5 separate regions of the Homo sapiens genome follow, and regions 1, 2, 3 and 4 are each linked to region 5. Evidence: promoter capture Hi-C in 16 types of primary human blood cells and fetal thymus (Javierre and others, 2016). All regions are on one chromosome and are shown on one strand. The core of a region is centred on a gene start or on the middle of the fragment in contact, and the rest is flanking DNA. Distances in the headings are between cores, read along the strand shown.

Evidence for each region. The method cuts DNA at HindIII sites, captures the fragments that hold promoters and counts their contacts. A CHiCAGO score of 5 or more calls a contact.
Region 1: a contact is called between a fragment that was not itself captured here and the fragment with the promoter of IFIT3 in region 5, in 1 of 17 cell types (non-activated CD4 T cells). The highest score is 6.1, in non-activated CD4 T cells.
Region 2: a contact is called between a fragment that was not itself captured here and the fragment with the promoter of IFIT3 in region 5, in 1 of 17 cell types (erythroblasts). The highest score is 5.8, in erythroblasts.
Region 3: a contact is called between a fragment that was not itself captured here and the fragment with the promoter of IFIT3 in region 5, in 1 of 17 cell types (activated CD4 T cells). The highest score is 5.1, in activated CD4 T cells.
Region 4: a contact is called between a fragment that was not itself captured here and the fragment with the promoter of IFIT3 in region 5, in 1 of 17 cell types (non-activated CD4 T cells). The highest score is 7.3, in non-activated CD4 T cells.

The regions. Positions count from the first base shown.
Region 1 is chr10:88,825,896-88,828,595 of GRCh38, reverse strand. It overlaps ANKRD22 (ankyrin repeat domain 22), which reads left to right. Exons shown (of 6, transcript NM_144590.3): 3 at 1-37; 4 at 2,481-2,558. Among named protein-coding and RNA genes, the nearest start is that of LIPM, 25 kb to the right of the region's middle. The HindIII fragment of the contact is 1,249 bases long and covers 636-1,884 here.
Region 2 is chr10:89,646,643-89,649,342 of GRCh38, reverse strand. PANK1-AS1 (PANK1 antisense RNA 1) reads right to left here. Exons shown (of 5, transcript NR_184344.1): 2 at 345-420; 3 at 55-196. Among named protein-coding and RNA genes, the nearest start is that of PANK1, 2.8 kb to the right of the region's middle. The HindIII fragment of the contact is 371 bases long and covers 1,199-1,569 here.
Region 3 is chr10:88,988,926-88,991,425 of GRCh38, reverse strand. It overlaps FAS (Fas cell surface death receptor), which reads right to left and starts at 628. Exons shown (of 9, transcript NM_000043.6): 1 at 520-628. The coding sequence starts at 549. FAS-AS1 (FAS antisense RNA 1) reads left to right here. Exons shown (of 1, transcript NR_028371.1): 1 at 1-4. It also overlaps a transcript of ACTA2 not described here. RefSeq lists enhancers at 1-312, 453-963, 964-1,475 and a silencer at 1,883-1,932. The HindIII fragment of the contact is 2,159 bases long and covers 171-2,329 here.
Region 4 is chr10:88,868,940-88,871,639 of GRCh38, reverse strand. No RefSeq gene overlaps it. Among named protein-coding and RNA genes, the nearest start is that of STAMBPL1, 10 kb to the left of the region's middle. The HindIII fragment of the contact is 192 bases long and covers 1,328-1,519 here.
Region 5 is chr10:89,326,573-89,329,272 of GRCh38, reverse strand. IFIT3 (interferon induced protein with tetratricopeptide repeats 3) reads right to left here and starts at 1,276. Exons shown (of 2, transcript NM_001549.6): 1 at 1,195-1,276. The coding sequence starts at 1,199. It also overlaps a transcript of LIPA not described here. RefSeq lists a silencer at 899-948 and an enhancer at 1,269-1,508. The HindIII fragment of the contact is 8,842 bases long and covers 575-2,700 here.

The DNA.
Region 1 (2,700 bases), core at 11-2,510, 500 kb after region 5:
CTTAATGCCTGTTCTGCTTATTGGGTATTTCCTCATGGTGAGTACAACACTTGTAGAGCAAAGGGCAAATGTGGAGATCGATGGTGTGACTCATTGACTCTTGCCAGGCCAGTGAGATGTTGAAAAGAAATAAAAACAAAAAAAGCCTTTGGTTTGTATTCTGTAATTGACATGTTCAACATACATCCAATGCTATAATTGAAGTACAGCAAGAAGAAAGCTAGCAAAAATAGTTAATCAATGGTAACATAATCCATGCAATGTTGATTTAGAAAAATAATTTAACCTTAACTAAGACTTTTCTGAAGGGAGCAAAAAAATTCTGAATATTAAAAAACACCCCTTCTAATATTTTTTTCTCCTTTTTTTAAAAGAGGAGTTTGTGTTTTTGGATTTATCTTTCTGACTTACTGATTTTTAAGTACTCCTCTGGTGGTGTGTTGAAAAACAGATCCTAAAAGTTTGCATCCAGAAGCTGACACACACAGAAGATACTTGTTGAGAATTTAAGCCCATTTTCACCTTGATGAATTTCTTCATGCTTGGATGAATCTTGGCAGACAGCAATTTTCTTGAATAAAGAAAGATGTAGTTGGTATAGAGATGCAGTCATATGAGGAGTAGAAGATGAAGCTTGAGATGGTTTTTGGTTTTTTTTCCCAATAGGGTAACAGATCTGCACTGACTTACTCACTTTTATCCATCTAGTTTCCTTTGTGCCCAGTTCCACTTCTCAGACATGACTCAAGAGATGCATAATTTACTTTAATTAAATGACCAAGCTCCCTCCTTGTTGTAGCTCATAAACTGTGAATATTGGTTACACCTGTTAACATCAGCCGCAGAACAAGTCTGCCCGTCAAAAATGTTATTATTTCATTGGGTATTTAAATGCCACAGAATTTGAGGAACTATAATTAAACATGACAATGTTGATTTTTATATTTGGATTTATAGGAGAGAGAAAAGAACTTTAATTCACTAATAAAAATATAATCTGCTCATATCCTCGAAGAATTCTTTAAAAATTCATTATGTATTTAGCACATAGCATTTAAATACATGTATTTTGGGGGCAGGGAGAATCTGTTATTTATTTACAAACATTTTTAGAGATTCTAAAGGTAAAAATTACAACTGTGATTAGAAGGCTCATTCAGAATTTATTGACACACAACTCTGCTTTCTAAGATGGTTCAATGTTTAGAGGCTGGAGGACTGGGCAAAAATAGTAATCGTAATGAATAGCTCAACTCTAGTTTCATGCACGTGCAATTTATTAATGGGGCCTAAAGTTGTAAATTTGTGATGAATTAACAAATAAGTGACATGAGAGGAAATGATAGGGGAGGAGAGAGGAAAGCATTGGGTTATTTCAGAGAAAAGTAGGCAGAGAAAGGCAGTTTAGGAGGTGACACAAGAGGGAAGCCTAAGGAGAGAGAACTGGATGGAGCTTCCCAGGTGATGACAGGGTTGAACTCCAGGGCTATACCCAGCTGAGCAGGGAGAGCTTTGCCTCTTCAGGAGACTGGAAGTTGGGGAAGACTCCAACAGGCTTGTGGTCAGAAGCTCAGGAGACTGGGAAGGAAAAGTGAATTTCTGAGGAGTCCTAGTTCATTTCATTAATTTGTTCAATTCTTTAACGTATGTTTATTATGGACCTACTATGTGCCAGACGCTGTGCTAGCTGTTAGGGACACAATGATGAACAAAATAGGCATAGTTTTTTACCCCATGAGAGTTAGAGGGTGGTGGGGAGAGTCATTAATCAAATGGCACAAACACATGTAAAATTACCATAAAGCGGGTGATACAGAAAGGCGACTGGTGTTAGGATAGCTAAAAAAGAGGGATTTCACCTGGTCAGGTGGGTCAGGGAAAGCTTCTTAGAGAAAGAGGGACTTGGGCTGATGAATGAAAGGTGAATATGCCAGGCAAAGAAGAGAGGGAGGAGGCTTCTAGGCAGAAGGAACTTCCTGTGCAATGATTCTCTGAGAATGAAAGATTAACAAAGGCCAATGTAAGTAGAACAGAGTGAGCCAGGAGGCGCAGAGTGAGAGAGAGGCCAGGGCAGGGCCATACGTGGAGCCAAAACATACGGGGCTTTGTAGGTCATGCTGAAGAGTTTACTTTTGTCCTCAGAGCAATGGGAAGTAATTGCACAGCTTTGAGCCAGGAAGGGAAAGACAGGTACTAGGCCCCATCCTCAGTGGAATTAGGTAGGTTTGGGGTGGGACCTGAGAAGTACATTTCTAAGGTTCTTAGGTGTCAGTGCCGCTACTTCAGGACCACAGTCTGAGAACCTGGCTTTAATTAATTGATATTAGAGTGAGTGAGAAGCTGGGGGAAATTTTAGGAAGGGTGCATGCATGCATAGGAGTGTTGGGATTAAAATGAAGCCTATTGATTAAATAGTCTCAGGCATAAATTGGAGAAACTATTTGTAAATAAGCCTTTCTTATAATTACCATTTGTAATAGGTATCAAAGACAAAGCAGAATGAGGCTCTTGTACGAATGCTACTTGATGCTGGCGTCGAAGTTAATGCTACAGATTGTGTAAGTTTATACTTTTAGCCATTTTGAAAAAATATTCAAAATGGTATTTGTAGGTAGCGTATTTGTCATCTGTACAGTTGCTTTATTTTCCTAGACAATTTTACATTTAGTTTTCTTTTATTTTCTCCTTTTTTTTCCCACT
Region 2 (2,700 bases), core at 135-2,634, 320 kb before region 5:
GGTAAAATGAGCCTGTTGGTTGGTTACATAAACTTTTCAGCCATTACTGCTCACCTTCTCCCTTCTCAGGCTGCTCTTCAGCCTTGTGGAACTCCTGGCAGTTTCCCAAAAATGCCAGGTTGTTTCAAATGCACCCACAGAGTCTTGGCTCCTTCAGTTCTGAGTAGATTCTTTTAAACCTTCCCTCCCTATTCACCTGAAGAAAGGCCAATATTATTCAAAATTCAGTTTAAGGGTCATTTCCTCCCTGAAACCTGTTTTAGCTTCCACCTCAGCACCACTCCCCCATAAACCCCCACCCCTGACTCTGTCATTGCTCACTCTCTGGGGTCTTCTGGAGTTACCTCCCGCAGCATAGATGGCATACTTTGCTTCCTTCATTGTTTCTCCAAGCCATGATGATCATCTGCATCAAATCCCCTGTTTTTGAAAAAGTTATTTTTTTAATTTTAAAAATATTTATTATCATCTTCGTTATCATCATCATCACCTACTGATGAATCAGTCTATGGGAACTGGACCCAGAATCTGTGCTTACAAAATATCCTGGGTTGCAAGTTACACTGCATGTTCATTTTTTGCAAAATACCTTGAGCTTTATAAGATATGCATACTTTTCTGTATGTATGTTAGTTTTAATACAAATTTAAAAAGGAAAAATTCCCTAGGTTATTCTTACATAACACTGATGCTGGAGAATCACTGACTTTTCTCTCTCTACTGAATTGTAAGCCCTTTGAGGGCAGTGAAGCCATCTATTTTGTCTTTGTATTCCCAGCATGCTTTAGTGCCTACAACATAGTACACACAATAAATGATTATTAAATAAATGAATAAGACCCAAGGGAGTGCACTGGTTTGTGGGTTCCCTTCTCCCTCACTCTCTTCCAAACATTTGTTGCATGCCCCTCCTGGAGGACATGACAGCTCACGCCTCAAAGTTACACCTCCTACACACACCCCTGAATAAACCTGTGAGATGCCACCTGGCTTCTTCCCTACCATACGCTGGGTGTAACTGATCCAAGCACCCAGCCTGACAAGGGTAGGAGAAAGGAAGCAGGTGGAGGACGTTCTGTCCCAGTACCAGTACTTTTGCCCTGCCTGGGTCTGAGCCACCTGGCTCAGGCCTTCCTCAGCAGGCCTGGGAATCCAGCTAGAAAAAATATGTCCTTGGAGATATTGCAATGCTAAAGCTTCTATTTGCATCTCTGATGTAATTTGCTTCCTAAGCCACTCAGCTCAATTATGTGGGAATTTGAAAATGATATATTTGAATATTTAGGAGTGGCTGGTGATTTTTAGCAAATTTACAGTAGAAAGTGAGGGGGACTCTGTGTGAAATATCATCTAAGTCAGGGGTGTCCAATCTTTTGGCTTCCATGAGCCACACTGGAAGAGGAAGAATTGTCTTGGGCCACACATAAAATACACTAACACTAATGATAGCTAATGAGCTAAAAAAAAAAAAGTCACAAAAATAAATCTCATGTTTATGAATTTGTGTTGGGCCGTATTCAAAGCCGTCCTGAGCCGCATGCAGGCTGTGGGCCACAGGCTAGACAAGCTTGATATAAGTCATTTATCCAGTCACAAATAATTACCAAGTGCCTCCTAGGGATAGAGTGATGAACAAGTCATCTGCCTTAAAGATGCTTACAGTGAAGTGGGGTAAGATGGGCAATCAAATAATAATAATGTCTTTTTCTAGCACTTACAATGTGCTGGACACTTTACATATGTTAACCTTAAATAATGAGATTTAGAGAACATGATTAAGTATGAAGTTTGAGTGCAAAGCTTGAGGATAGCCACCTGGAAACACTAACTCCAAATGAGTGGGATCAGTGCTCCAAAGTGGAGAAGTTAAGATTTCACTTATACTGGCAGAGATGGAGAAGTTCCAGCAGAATTACATTTTCCATACAAGACCAATGCATATGCCACAGCGATTTGATTGGTTGCAGACTGCTGCATTCCAAGGAAGATTATTACTCTGTGAGGAGAGGCAGTGATCCAAGGGATTAGTATCTCTGGCCCTGCTCGGTCTTCCTAATTATTTACAAGGAAAAAAGGCAAGCCCAGGCATGGTGGCTCATTCCTATAATTCCAATACTTTGGGAGGCCAAGGTGGGAGGATCGCTTGAGCCCAGGAGTTGGAGGCTACAGTAAGCTACGACTGTGCCACTGCACTCCAGCCTGGGTGAAGGAGTGAGACCTTGTCTTAAAAAAAAAAAAAAAAAAAGCAGAAGTTGTAGCTGCATAGCCACATTTCTCTCAAGTCTCACAAAAAAGTTCCAATAGCTTGAAGTTTGAATTAATTTTACGCATGTGTTATGCATTTCATCAGTCTAACAACTCAGTGATGTCCTATTATTCTCAAGTTACAAATGAGGGAACAGATGCATGGTATAGTTACAAAATGATAAGGAGTCATAAACAGAGTACAAGGAGTAGGAAGAGGGTATGGCAGGGAGACCTAATGTAGCCCTAAGGGTCAGGGAACATTTCTCTAAATATGAGAAGTTAAAGAGGAGATCTAAAGTTGGAGTCTAGTAGACAAAAGAGGTCTTAGAGAAGAGACTTCTCTAAGGCAATGGAAACAGCAGAATGTTGTTTAAGGAATTGAAGGCAGCACAGGGAGCCCCTGATGAGGCAGGAGAGGTAGGGAGGGGCCAGATCACCTGGGTTTTTTTCTCT
Region 3 (2,500 bases), core at 1-2,500, 340 kb after region 5:
AAAATGAGCAATATCTGTTCTGAAGGCTGCAGGCTCTCTCCCCGCCCCCGCGGGGCGGCGCGCACTCACCCACCCGCGCCGGAGCGGACCTTTGGCTTGGCTTGTCAGGGCTTGTCCAGGAGTTCCGCTCCTCTCTCCAACCGGGGTCCCCCTCCAGCGACCCTAAAGCTTCCCAGACTTCCGCTTCAATTCCTGTCCGCACCCCACGCCCACCTCAACGTGGAGCGCAGTGGTCTCCGAGGAGCGCCGGAGCTGCCCCGCCTGCCCAGCGGGGTCAGCACTTCGCATCAAGGCCCAAGAAAAGCAAGTCCTCCAGCGTTCTGAGCACCCGGGCCTGAGGGAAGGTCCTAACAGCCCCCGGGAGCCAGTCTCCAACGCCTCCCGCAGCAGCCCGCCGCTCCCAGGTGCCCGCGTGCGCCGCTGCCGCCGCAATCCCGCACGCGTCCCGCGCCCGCCCCACTTTGCCTATCCCCGGGACTAAGACGGGGTAAGCCTCCACCCGGGCAGGAGAGGGCTCACCAGAGGTAGGAGGGTCCAGATGCCCAGCATGGTTGTTGAGCAATCCTCCGAAGTGAAAGAGCTTCCCCAACTCCGTACTGAGCGGGTCCACCAACCCGCGGGAGAAGAGGCAGCTCCGCCTGGGCAGCCAGGGCTGGCCTCAGGGTGTGTTCCGTGCCAGTGCCCGCCCCTGAGGCTCCAGCCAAGTCACTCGTAAACCGCTTCCCTCACTCCCCAGAAGCGTCTTTGAACACCTGTGTGTCACTCTTGCGCGAGATCAGAGACGAGCTCACGAAAAGCCCCGGTGGTCAGGAGGATGGGAAGGAAGCCTCGCTGGGGAACGCCCGGGTTGGGGAGGGCTCCATTGATTCAGCAACTTGGCCTGCGCGCGGGTAGGGAGGGGGAGAAGTCAGGGTGAGGAAGGAGTCAGGGTTCGTTGCACAAATGGGCATTCCTGTCCCGGGGCGTTCCTGCAGTGGCTGGCATGCTCACTTCAGGTGAGGACCTCGAGAGCCGGCCTCCTGCCCTTTCTAAAGGCTTCTGCTGTAGTTCAACCTGGGAAGTTGGGGAGGTCTTGAAGGAGAATGGAGCTCAGAGCGCAGAGGTCCTGCCTGGGTACAGGAGCCTTGGCTAATTGCTGGAGTCACTCAGAGAAAGACTTGCGGGGCATTTGACTGGGCTGTCCATGTTGTGGCTGCAACATGAGAGGCTCACAGACGTTTCTGGAATGGACAGTTAACCATATGAAAAAGTACAGATGTTGCGCCATAGGGCTCTGAAAAGGGAGGGCCCCTTAGTTTTTATTTCTCAAGAGGAAAACAAAGCTAACAACTTAAGCCAAATCGCATAGCCCCAGCTATATTAAACATTCACAATTACTTCCTGTCCTTCGTTACTCATTATTTCCTGGCCAATTTTCTTTAAAAAAAAATCTTGTAATTCTTTCGTGCTCTGGTGAACACTGTTCAAAGTCACTATTGCTTTGGAACGGTAGATAGCTCTTAGGTAGTTTAGCATGAATTTTACAGAAGGTATGTTTGGATAATGACATCATTACTGAACCTGAATTTGGATGCAGTTCCAGACTGGACACACTAAAGGTTTCAGTATTCCTTTGGCATCGTCCACCAAGCTCTGCACCTCACTCTGCAACCTCTCTCCCTTCCCAATTAGATTCAACCCATTAATAACACATTAATAACCCTTTGCTTAGCCCACTGTTCATCCTTCAGGCTTCCTCTCAGTTGACATTTTCTTCTGGAGCCTGTTTGGGCCCTCAAATCTAGGTTAGGTTACCCTCCTGAGGGCTTTCCATCACCCTGTGTTTTGCATCTGTCACTGCACTTACCACCAGTCTTGTAGGTGTTGATAGGCTTGTCTCTGTTCCACCTTTCAGTAGACTGTTAGTGCCATGAGGAAGACCCTGGGCGTGCCAGCCTTGTGCACACACTCTGAGCATCTAATAGACACAAAAAGAAGTGGGATAAGGAGGATGGTATATGGGCATTCTCTGTATTATCTCTGCAAATTTTTTGAAATCCTAAAACTATTCCAAAATGAAAAGTTCATTTAAATAAAAAAATGTAAAAAGAAGGAAGGAAAAGGGGTGTGAGGGAAGGAAAGGAGAGGTAAGGGAAGAAGGAATGGAAGGAGGGAAGAGAGAAAAAAAGGGGAAAGGACAATTGACAAAATCAGTATCTCTTGAGTGTGAATTATAAGCCAGCAACTCACATATGTGGATCTTCCTTACTTAATACTTATCATTATAGCCCAGTGAGATGAGTGATTATTAAACTTACTTTACAAATAAAAAAATGTAGCCAAAAAAGCTTAAGCAACATTGGCAAAGATGGTTAGTTAATAAATAGCAGAGTCAGGAATTAAACTTAGATATTCTTGCTCCCAAGGTCCTGCTCTTTCTATGCCATACCCCCTTCCCCTACCCTCTGCCCACGTACGTCTAATTATCCTCAAGTTCAAGGAGATAGGAATATGTGCTTTG
Region 4 (2,700 bases), core at 174-2,673, 460 kb after region 5:
ACAATGAGATACGATCTCACATCAGTTAGAATGGTGATTATTAAAAAGTCTGGAAACAATAGATGCTGGAAACAATAGATGCTGGAGAAATAGGAATGCTTTTACACTGTTGGTGGTAGTGTAAATTAATTCAACCATTGTGGATGACAGTGTGGCAATTCTTCAAGGATCTAGAACTAGAAATACCATTTGACCTGGCAATCTAATTACTGGATATATATCCAAAGGATAATAAATCATTCTACTCCAAAGACACATGTACAAGTATGCTTATTGCAGCACTATTCACAATAGCAAAGGCATGGAACCAACCCAAATGCCCATCAATGATAGACTGGATAAAGAAAACGTAGCACATATACAGCATGGAATACTATGCAGCCATAAAAAATGAGTTCATGTCCTTTGCAGGGACATGGATGAAGCTGGAAACCATCATTCTTAGCAAACTAACACAGGAACAGAAAACCAAACACCGCATGTTCTCACTCATAAGTGGGAGTTGAACCATGAGAACATATGGGCACAGGAAGGGGAACATCATACACGGGGGCATGACAGGGGGAGGGGAGCAAGGGGAGGGATAACATTAGGATAAATACCTAATGTAGATGACAGGCTGTTGGGTGCAGCAAACCACCATGGCACGTGTATATCTATGTAACAAACTTGCACGTTCTGCACATGTATCCCAGAACTTAAAGTATATATATAAAAAAAAAATTCGATAGGCACCTGTGTTCAACCAAACAGCCATTATTGGCCCCAAGACAGTTGAATTTTAGGTCATCAGGTGTGATCTTTAGAAAATTAAGGTTGAGTCGATGACCCTGTACCCTCTTGATCCAAAATGTTCTTCTCTACTTGGATTATTGGAACCATGAGCACAAGCCACTTTGGCAGAAAGTGAAGCTATTTACTCCAATGGTTAAGACAAAAAGCTCTGGAACCAGATAGACCTGGGAAGCTTAGTTTGCCACTTTGCATTTTTGTGGCCTTTGAGCCAGTAAATTAATTTCTGTTTCCTCATCTATACGACAGGGAGAATAATCCTAATTTAAAGAAAGTTTGTAAATATTCGTGAGCTGGTCTACTAAAGTGCTTAGCCTGTGTGGATACCCAATAAATTATCATCATCATGGTTAGTAGTAAAAGACAATTCTCAATTAGGAAGTAGTAGTTAAGGCTGAAACAGATGAAGAGACATCCCTGAGCTATCCTGTAAGTTCATTAATTCACACACACAGCAATAGGAAGTTGTGTGTGGTGGGGGAAGCAAAATCTGTCTTTGTATTTACAGGGCATTTAACATGCAAATATCCAAGCTTACTTTTCTGGACAATGATGCACTTTACTTAAGTATTTAGTTTCTGTTTCAGCCCTGATGTCAGGGCCAAAAAGAGACATTTGCAATGCAGGCTAGGAGACAAAGGAAACAAAATGCATCTCTTAGCACATGTTTCATTAAGATTTGATACTAGCTTGATTAAAATCTATATTGACTTAGCCTAAGGAAGCTTTTGCAACATAAATAACTTCCTCTAGCATTATCTCAGTGCCTGGAGAATGAGTTGAATTCCAGAAGCTCTTGGATGATGGGGGATGGAATTACGTGTGATCTTCAGTTTCTTCTTTTTCCTTTATTTTTTGAATGGTATTATTTCTCTGCTTTTCCAATATTTCTGAAAAAAATCTATTATTTGTATAATAATAAAAATTTTTAAAGTTGTAAAAGAAATACATCTTCTCTCTAATACACCACTGTAAAAGGCCATTTTGAAAGGGGCTTCAGGCCACTGTGTTCAAGATGATTTGGAGAGGAGACAGACTCGAAGCAATCATCTGGGCTTAAGATGGTAAAACCTTAGGTCTTTCCCCAATATGTTCTCATTTTGGTCTTCCTACTCACTGTAAAAAAAGAAAAAATATATATCATTGAAGAATAAAGATATTTAATGCTGCAGGAGACAAATCTGGTTGCTCTAAAGGATTTCCATGAGCTGATGACCTCCAGTGAGTCCTCTGATGAGGGGATCTAGGACATGCCCCTGAGGACTTGCCTTAAACTAGGTGTTCCTGACAGAGGAGGTCTAGGATGAGCCTGGGGGCTCTGGAAAAACTGCTGGGACTCACATCTGCCTCCTACACTGCTCCTTTTCTGATCAGACAAACATTTCGCCTCTCTTATCCCCAGACTTTTAGGATGCCATTTAACGAATTACCCAACCAAACTTTGAGGCAAACAGCCAACTATTTACCTCTTCTTCATATAAAACTAGAATGTTTTTAAAATAAAGATCTAAAAACAGAAAAATTAAAATCATCTTGTGATCTCACCACCCAGAAAGATCCAGCACTTTGGCTTATCTACTCTTAGATACATCTATTTATACAAACACACATACTACTCCATATATCATTCTATGTTTATTTTACCAAACTAGTATTAGAATATGCATGTTCCTTAATAACTTTTTTCTTTTAACAAATGGAGAACATTTTCCTACATTAAAAAAAAATCTTACAATCTTTACATCCAATTACATCAGCTCAACAAATTGTCACCAGATGACTTCTAAATGTCCAGCACTGAGAGATGCTACAGGAGTCCCAGTTCTGCCACTTACAAGCTCTTTATTCTTAGGTAAGTTACTGACTCTAAGTCTCAATTTCCAGATCTCTAAAATAGCAATGAACATT
Region 5 (2,700 bases), core at 27-2,526:
AATTCCTCTTACCCATCTCATCCCCAAACATGACATTGCAGAGCATCTTCAAGTCCTTGGGGCAGAGTAAGGTAGGGAATCCAGTTTTCCTTTTCTGCCCCCCTGAATGGTCGATGGGGTCTTCCCTCCCTGGCAATCACCTCCTCACTCCTTTCCTAGAGATGCTTGGTGGGAAAGGCATCCTTTTCTCTTAGTTCTCCCTAACATGCTATCCCCTGAAGAACTCCAGGAGGTCAATATATAAATTTAAAAATCAAGTTTACTGAGATTATGCTTTATATACAATAAGATGCACCCATTTTCAGTGTATAGTCTGATGAGTTTTGGTAAATGTTTATGCATATGTAGCCACCATCACTACCTCCCTATAGACTATTCCTATGATTCTAAAAAGATTCTTTTGGGAGCCTTCCTACTCAATCCCCACCATCTCCAGGCAACCACTGATCTGCTTCCCACCATTAGAGATTAGACTAGTTTTAGATAATAGATTAGGTCATTACACTTTTGAGGAGAAATTCTTTTTTTGCTGCTGACCAGCATTCACTACATCAATAAAAATAAATGCTAAGCTTTGGGTTTGTTTTTATATAAGAAATGACAAAAATGCCCATTTGTAAGAATTGTTTCTTCCACTTCCCACCTTAAAGTAATGCAACGTTTCAGGGCAAAATTGCCTTCTTCATGAGTGGGTTTGCAGTACTGATTGTATCTTTCACAATATCTGTTGAAAATAAATTCCTCCTTTTAAAATTACAAGAAAAAAAGCCTGTGACTTAATCTTTTCAAACAAAATGACAATAACAGAAAAACCCAAAAGAGTAATTCCCTTAGGTCTACCCTTGAATCAGCCAAGTTTGTGGCTGAGTGAAATACACCGCTCCTGCCAAGCCTTCCTCTCATTGCAGGAAATAGCTGCACACAGGGAGGAAACATGAGCTGATGCATTCCCCACCCTGCCTCCCCCCATGTAGTTCCGTAGGGAACCATTCCAGAAACTTAAGAAGCCTGTGTGTACACCAAAAAAAGCCACAGGGAAAAACCCCTCAAACATCTTACAAATGCTCAGACTGATAAAGACATATTGAATCTATAAACATCAGGACAATTCAGGAATGTGCCTGCACAGTAAGAAACTCAACTTACAATTTGCACTCAAAAACAAGCATGATTATGCATTCTTATTTCACTGACCTCATGACTGCCCTCTGTGTCTCTGCTGTTCCGAAAAGCTGGTGACCAGGCTGATTTGTTCTTCAGAAGTCTTCCTGTCTGCCTCAAGTAAATACTGAAGGAACTATATAAAGGGGTGGGAGAGTAGGGCACGCATCAGCTGATGTTTTCTCCGTTTTTGAGTAATTGCTTTTAGGGGAAGGAAGAGGAAACTGGAAAGTGAAACTAATTTAAAATCGTTGGGAGGAGGAAAATGAAACCTAACGGCTTGAGACCTGCAATGGCTGAGCCAGAGTACGTTATTCAAAACTGTGACTAAAATTTGTTTGAGAGAATGTGGAAGCATTCCTAATGTAAACCAAAAAATTAAATTCTAAGGCCATACTCACCAACCATGTGACTGGACCCCTGCTTTTGGCCAAGGGCATTCCAAAGTTAACCTGAAAACTGATGTGAAGGGGAAGCTGGATATGCCTCATTACATCCTTTTTCCTTTTGGAATTACTAATAGAACACACTCTTTTTTTGTTTTTGTTTTTGTTTTTTTTTGAGACAGAGTCTTACTCTGTTGCCCAGGCTGGAATGCAGTGGCATGATTGCGTCTCACTGCAACCTCTGCCTCCTGGGTTCAAGTGATTCTCTTGCCTCAGCCTCCCGAGTAGCTGGGATTACAGGCACCCACCACCATGCCCGGCTAATATTTGTATTTTTAGTAGAGACGAGGTTTCGCCATGTTGGTCAGGCTGGTCTTGAACTCCTGATAGCAGGTGATCCAACCACCTTGGCCTCCCAAAGTGCTGGGATTACAGGCATGAGCCACTGCACCCAGCCAGAACATGCTCTTTTTAAGTGTATTAAGAAACATTTACAACCTATTCTCTCTGAAGCCTGCTACTTGGAGGCTTCATCTGCATAATAAAACCTTGGTCTCCACGACCCAGACATTCCTTTCTAATGATTGTCTATTGAATTTCTATTGGATGTCTCCAAACATTCCTTTCTATTGATAATAACTCTTTCAACAAATTGTCAATCAGAAAATCTTTGAATCTGCCTATGACTTGGAAGCTGCCCCGCTTCCCTGTTTCCAATTGTCCCACCTTTCTGGACCTAGCCAATGTACACCTTACATGTATTGATTGATGCCTTATGTCTCCCTAAAATGTATAAAACCAAGTTGTGGCCTGGCACATGTTCTCAGGATCTCCTGAGGGCTGTGTCACAGGCCATAGGTCATTCATATTTGGCTTAGAATAAATCTCTTCAAATGTTTTACAGAGTTTGACTTTTTTTGTCAACATTAGGTATCTGACCATCAGTCTAGGGTGGGGCCCAGGAAACAGCATTTTTTAAGCCAATTCTTATTATTTTTAAAAATTTTTTGTGGACACATAGTAGATATATATATTTATGGGGTACATGAGATATTTGATGCGAGCATACAATGAGTAATAATCACATCAGGGTAAATGACTTCAAGCATTTATTCTTTGTATTACAAACAATCCAATTATACTCTTTTAGTTA